Regions from separate parts of the Homo sapiens genome. Here region 2 is linked to region 1. The links are contacts of gene promoters, found by promoter capture Hi-C in human tissues and cell types (Jung and others, 2019). All regions are on one chromosome and are shown on one strand. The core of a region is centred on a gene start or on the middle of the fragment in contact, and the rest is flanking DNA. Distances in the headings are between cores, read along the strand shown.

Region 1 (3,329 bases), core at 231-2,730:
ATAAGCACTGAGGTTAAATCCTCAGTGAAACCATCTGTGGAGTTGTCTGGGCAAGAAAAAGTAGTTTCATAGTTGACGCTGAGACATGTGATGCAGAAGGAGGCTGGTATCTCTTGATAGGGACTGTGAACTCTATTCCCACGCTCACTGCCTGGCATTGACTTTCAGCTCAGTGAATGCTATTGAACTGAACCTAATTGGGGGACCATAAAGGACAAGCTTTCCTTAAGGTTCACTGAAAACTAGGACAAGAGGAGGTTAAATATCACAGTGTAGTAACAGCAGCTACATTTACTGAGTACCCATCAGGCTTTATGTACTCCATTTCAGTGGCCCTCAAACTTTACCAGTGGAGAATCACCCCAGGCTTTGCAGAAGGCTGAAGGGTGGGGTGGCGGGGGGGCGGTGGGGAGCGTGGTGGGGGCGGTGAGGGGTGAAAATTTGTGTTAAAAAAAACTTCCCAAGTGATGTTGATCAGGAACTGTATTTTGAGAGCCACTCTGGATTTTACTTAATTATCAGTCTTACAAGGTGAATAGTGTTATGCCCACTTTATAAATGAAGAAATAGAAGTGTCTAAGGGTTTCGTAGCTCACAACTGAGAAGAATTTAAAATCAGTTACTTTTGATTCCAAATATCATTCTTGTCCCACTCCATAGAAGGAGATGTGTGTGTACGTGTATATACATACATTTTTGAACATGATCATTTCCCTCTATCCAGCCATCCAGATTCACAGTGTATATTTGTATTTCTGACTCTAGAAGAAAATAATTGAAACTTTTATCACAATTTATCTTTAGGTGATAGGATTATGGGTGTTCTCAGTTATTCTTTGATTTTTGTGATTGTTTTCCTTTATACTTTTTTCTTTGTATCTAAATATACACATTTATCTCAGGAAAAGTTTTAATCATTTTGTTTCCGCTGAACTTATCTAACAGAATGTGACATGAAAATATTAATGCTGATTTGTTCAAAGAAAATAATAATCTCCCACCCCACCAATGTAAACGGATTTAGATAAATTTATTATTCAAGTGAGTACTTATAAAGGCAAAGACTTTGGAACCATCCTGAAAAGCAGAAAGTGAAAATTTCCTTGATCTTTGCCCCCAGAGGAAAGCTCTGGCATACTGGGAGGGTTCTTCACGAATTTTTCATAGAATATACCAATATTTTGTATAATTACGTATTAACATATAGTTTGTGTAAACGCATAATGTATTGTCTACATTTTCACGCTGCAGAGCAACATTATGCACGGTATAAGATTCACCTAATTAAGCGTAGGTAATTAAGATTATAATTACAGGGCAAGACTTTAAAGCCCATGGGAGCCCAGCCGCAGTCAACCTCGCACCTCCCTGCCGGTTGTGTTTCTGGCCTCGCCCCTCCCCGCTTCGCCAGCCCCGCCCCTCCCCGCTTTGCCAGTCCCGCTCCTCCCCGCCCTGCCGCGCGTGGGCACCTGGGAAGAGGCGGAGAACAATATGGCGGATGGCGAGGAGCCGTAAGTACCGGGGCTCTGCAGACGCGCCGGGCTGGGCTGGGTTGTGAGAGAGCGCGGCGGTGGGCGGTTGCCGCCGCCACCCGGGGTCCCCACACCCCCCGCCCCGTCCCCTCGCCCCCCTCCCCTCGCGGCGCCCAGTGTGTAGCGCGATGCTGACCCTTCTTTTATTCTCTCTTTTAGGGAGAAGAAAAGAAGGAGAATAGAGGAGCTGCTGGCTGAGAAGTTAGTGCTGCCGGGAGGCCGGGGCCCTCTCCGGGGACCCCCGCCTCCCCCCACCCCAGGCCTAGGGGACCAGCCGCAGCGGGCCCGGGGGGCTGGGAGGGGGACACCCGGAGCGCAGGCCGCGCTGCCTCATCCCCTGATCCCCGCCCCGCAGCCCCGGGGGCCTGGCGGGCCGCTCCCGGTATCTGCCCGGTGCGGGCGTCGGGGCCAGGCTGTACTGCCCCAGCTCCTGCAGGGGCCCTCCGGGGTGCTTGACGTAAAGGTCTTGAGGAAGGACCCTTGTGCACTCCTCTTCCTCCATCCCAAATTGTCAGAGCAGTGACCCTGTGAAAAGGCAATCTACCTTAAACACACAGGAAAAGGACACAAGACCGTTTTGTGGCCTTTTGCAAACACTGAGACAGTAGTACTAATTGCAAACTTTTAATGATAACTCTACATGTCAGGTATTGTACTAAGCACTCCAGTCATTTTGGCAGAATAATTGGCTCTTAAAAGATCTGGAAAGAGGTTGTTGACTTCAAACAGCCTATTTATCCCTTTTACTACACACCCTATTTCTTATCAGATGCTTAATTCTATGCTGGTGAGACAGATTTAATCGAAGTGTTTTCTAACCTGGCCAGCGCCACATAATTTACTCCCCTCCCTGCCTGGGCAGGGAAAAAATACTCTTGCATTGGTTATGGTGAGTTTGTAAATTTCCGTGCCGATTCCCAGTAGCAGTGCTTTGATCTTTATGTGTGTCCCTCAGTTGAATTTCAGCTGCAAGAGGACCGGGATGACAAACTTAATTTCACATTCTTTCCTGCCTTTTATTTCCCTCCCACTTTTACATGAAATCACAATTAAACATTGCTTACCATATCCCACGTACTGTACTGAGTCTTCTGTGTGATTATCTATATCCTCATGGCTGAAAGAAGTAGCTATGAACGGCCTGCAGATGAGGTTTATGTCTATTAAGTAATCTGCTCAAGGTCACAGTGCTGTTAATTGTGGAACCCAACACAACTCTGACATCAAAACGTATGGTTTTTATTGCTAGGCAATACTTCTTGGTCCCTTTTGTAAAAATTGGATATTACTAATATATTTGACGGTAGAAACTGTGGAGTTATAGGAAATTAGAAAATTAAAAATAATCACAACCAAACGTGAATCTTAACTAAGTATAAAATAGATGAATTTTGTAGAGGAGTCCCACCTTATTCTGTTGTATGTTCTAAAAGGTTTGTAGATGTCTATCTGTGGCGTAATTGTAATCTGAAACTTTGTGTTTAGTGGCAAGAAAAGCCGTCCCACAGCATTAAGAGATTCTTTAAAAAATTAAGACCTCTGCCAGGTTCGGTGGCTCATGCCTGTAATCCCAGCACTTTGGGAGGCCGAGGTGGACGGATTACTTGAGCTCAGGAGTTTCAGACCAGCCTGTGCAACATGGCGAAACCCGTCTCTACTAAAAATACAAAAATTGGCTGGGTATGGTGGCATGTACCTGTAGGCACAGCTACTTGGGAGGCTGAGGCAGGAGAATCACTTGAGCCCAGGAGGGCAAGGCTGCAGTGAGCTGCAGTCACACCACTGCACTCCAGCCTG
Region 2 (3,329 bases), core at 250-2,749, 590 kb before region 1:
TAAAAAATAAAAAAATAGTGAATGGGAATGAATGTTTATCAAGCATCTACCTTAACATTATCTAATTTCCTCACTAAGTACATAATAGAAGATGTACTCTCTAAACCCTTATATTTACCTGAAAGCCTTTGATTTCACACAGAAGCATTTTCTTCTGCTTTTGATAATCGAAGATTGTTGGTAAAAATCTGAACTCATCGAAGGTCACACAGCTCAGTTCCCTTCAGGAAAATCAGGCCCAGTGAGGATAATACCAATAACATCATCAGACCAATTGAAGGAATTACACTGCAGTGGGTCACAAGGGTGCTGCTAGTCATTAAGTGATTCCCAATAAGTTCATTCACAGCAAGTCCAAATTACACTTACTGTGGCTCTTAAGTTTAGTAATAGTTTTGACCTCTGCTCTGATACCCTCATCTAAACTAATATTTACAGGTATCAGGCACACTGCCTGTGATTTTTTACCCACTTTAAATTATCCTCACAACAACCCCTGTGAATTCTATGCCATTAGTATCATCATTTAATAGCAGAATCACAGAAAGTCTGAACTTTTTGGGAGCATGGAGAGAAGTTATAGGCCACTTTAGAAATCTGATGAAAGCTTAGGGATGCCTTAGGAACAAAAATGTGTATAACCACATGATACAAACTCATACACAACCCATATACTTTCAAGGGGGTGTTCATGAACTTCCTAAGTCCACACATGAGGTTATATATGAACTTGAAGTTAAATCTTGAGTACAAAACTCAGGGTCACCACCATCAGTAGCTTGCATGGGGTCACCTAACTGATAAGGAGCTAGGTATGTTGGAACTCACATCTGTTTAAGTAGACTCCATCGAACACCCTATGGCATCCCAAGCGGTGACAGTCAATTGAAACCCACACACACTTAAATTAAAATAGAAAGCAAGCTCTTGTAAAGACTGCAGGATGCTAACTTTAAGGAAGATCATCACAGCTGTTAGTAAAACCCCATTAACCCTGGGGAAAGTGCATTTGCTTTCCAACTCAGGGAAGATCTGAAATCGGGAAAAGTCCAGTCCAGAATATTCACGCCAACCCGTTTGGCTGGGGCTTATCCCATAGAAGGGCAGCCAGCATGGCCATCAGGTACAATTCCCGGCTTTGCCTCCCCATCTGTGGACCCATCATCACAGGAACAGTCAACTCCCTTTGCTGTTGTGCTGTGACCCATCATCACAGGAACAGTCAGCTCCCTTCACAGTTCTCTGTGGCCTGAACACCAGCCAAGTCCTGTGCTGCTGCCGACCATGTCTGCAGTAGATGCAGACTAGGACACACTAAAGGCTATGGTCAGCATCAGGCTCTGGGTTAGTGCTGAGCAAAGGCAAGTCTCATATTTTAGACTTGTCAGTTCTTATTAGCTCCACATGGAGTGAAGGGAGAGTGCTGTGATGGGCACTTGACCAAGCAAATTAAGCTAATTTAGCCCTAATCTAGTAAACTGCAGAGAGGGTAGAGCTCCAGGCTCTTTAATTTGCTGCTTTATTCCCATGCAGACGATTAAACGATAACGATGATCTTTTTTAATGAGGATTTTTTAAAAATCTGGAATTGGAATTTTTTCAGCACAATAGAGAAACCGTTCATTCAGTTGTTCTAATACCTTGAAATTTTACTTATAATACATTAATTTTCAAACATAATTTGAATCTGAATCCCAGATTTTACATGAATTTGAATAACAGAGGAATTTGGAACACCTAAATTATATTTTTGACAAGAAATGAGTCCAGGGTTGCATTTTGGGAATATACCAGCAGATGGCAATGTCTGACAAAGAGTTTTGCTAGTTTCTACCTTCCTTCCCCTCATCCATCTTCCCAAAAGTTGTTTTCAAAAGCCATAGCAAATATATGCAAAAATATAGGCACTCTTCACTTCTTATAAGTGCACACTGCAGCTGACACTAATTGTTTCAGTCCTTTGGAAAAGCAAAATTAAATGATTATTTTGAATTGCTTTTCTAAAAATCCCAGTGGGTTTATTTCAATAAATCAATCATAATTATAGATTAAGGTAATAGAAATGAATTTGCATCACTAAAAATCATTAAAAAAAATGACCGGGTGTGGTGGCTCACACTTGTAATCTAAGCACTTCGGTAGGCCAAAGCAGGCAGATTGCTTAAGGCCAATAGTTCGAGACCAGTGGGCACCATAGGGAGACCCTATCTCTTAAAAAAAAAAAATTATGGATGGAACGGTGGTGATTCATCACTTCTTTTTGCCTCATGAATTTCCAATATCATTAGATTTTGCTTTTATTCATGTGTGCCAGGCACTAAATTACAATCTATTTGCCTGGTATCTTCCTTTCCTGATAACCGAGTACTGATCAACGAAAAAAATATTCAAGTGGTTAGAAGAAGAAATTTAGAGTTTACCAGTTCTGGCTAGAACCCCAGTTTTACTTATCCTGAATATAAAACTATTCCTACTTATTTTTCATACCACCTTCTGTTTATATGTCTGTCTATTTTAAATTATGTCTCATGAACTGTGCTTTTATACATAATATATACATATATTTACATATATATTACAAAATAACACTATTTTATTTAACAAATATCTCAGGTCCTGTGCTAGGAATTGAGGATCCAGTGGAAAGGAAGCCAAGTCCTTGCCTCTATGAAGCTTGCATTCTGGCAAGGACAGGCACACAAGAAACATATATACAAATAGTACAAGTTTCAGAAGTGATCATTGTTATAAAGAAAATAAAGAAGGGTAATGAATTGCACAGGCAAATGGAGGTGGTCTGGCTGAGCCTTTTAGAGTTGTTGACTTCTGAGGTGAATCCTGAATGATAATGCGAAAGAGAAATGGCCAGATGTGGTGTAATCCCAGCACTTTGGGAGGTGAAGGCAGGCAGATTGCTTGAGCCTAGGAGTTCGAGACCAGCCTGGGCAACAGGGCAAAACCCAGACTCTACCAAAAATTAGCTGGACATGGTGGCGCATGCCTGTGGTCCCAGCTACTTGGGAGGATCACTTGACCCAGGGAGGTCAAGGGTACAGTGAGCCATGATCTAGCAATTGCACTCCAGCCTGGACGACAGAGCAAGAACTTGTTTCAAAAAAAAAAAAAAAGAATGAGAAATTGGTGATATGATCTGGGAGAAGAACATTCTAGGCTGAGGAACAGCAAATGCAAAGGCACCAAGGCAGGAAGGAACTGGGGATAATTAGGCAAGTTAAGGGGTTCTCTGTGGCCCACCCTATTGAGTGGGTGACAGTGACAGGAGATGGGGTTAGAGAGAGGGGCAGAGGCCAGATCATGTAGGGCCTAGA

The links. Contacts are between HindIII fragments. The study calls those that stand out against the background at their distance.
Region 2: a fragment that was not itself captured here is called in contact with the fragment with the promoter of UBA3 in region 1 in 1 of the 25 tissues and cell types used here (dorsolateral prefrontal cortex).

Annotation. Positions count from the first base shown.
Region 1 is chr3:69,078,516-69,081,844 of GRCh38, reverse strand. It overlaps UBA3 (ubiquitin like modifier activating enzyme 3), which reads left to right and starts at 1,480. Exons shown (of 18, transcript NM_003968.4): 1 at 1,480-1,511; 2 at 1,692-1,733. The coding sequence starts at 1,492. RefSeq lists silencers at 1,372-1,441, 1,562-1,651, 1,772-2,001. The HindIII fragment of the contact is 6,628 bases long and covers 1-3,329 here.
Region 2 is chr3:69,669,755-69,673,083 of GRCh38, reverse strand. No RefSeq gene overlaps it. Among named protein-coding and RNA genes, the nearest start is that of MITF, 68 kb to the left of the region's middle. The HindIII fragment of the contact is 3,231 bases long and covers 1-3,114 here.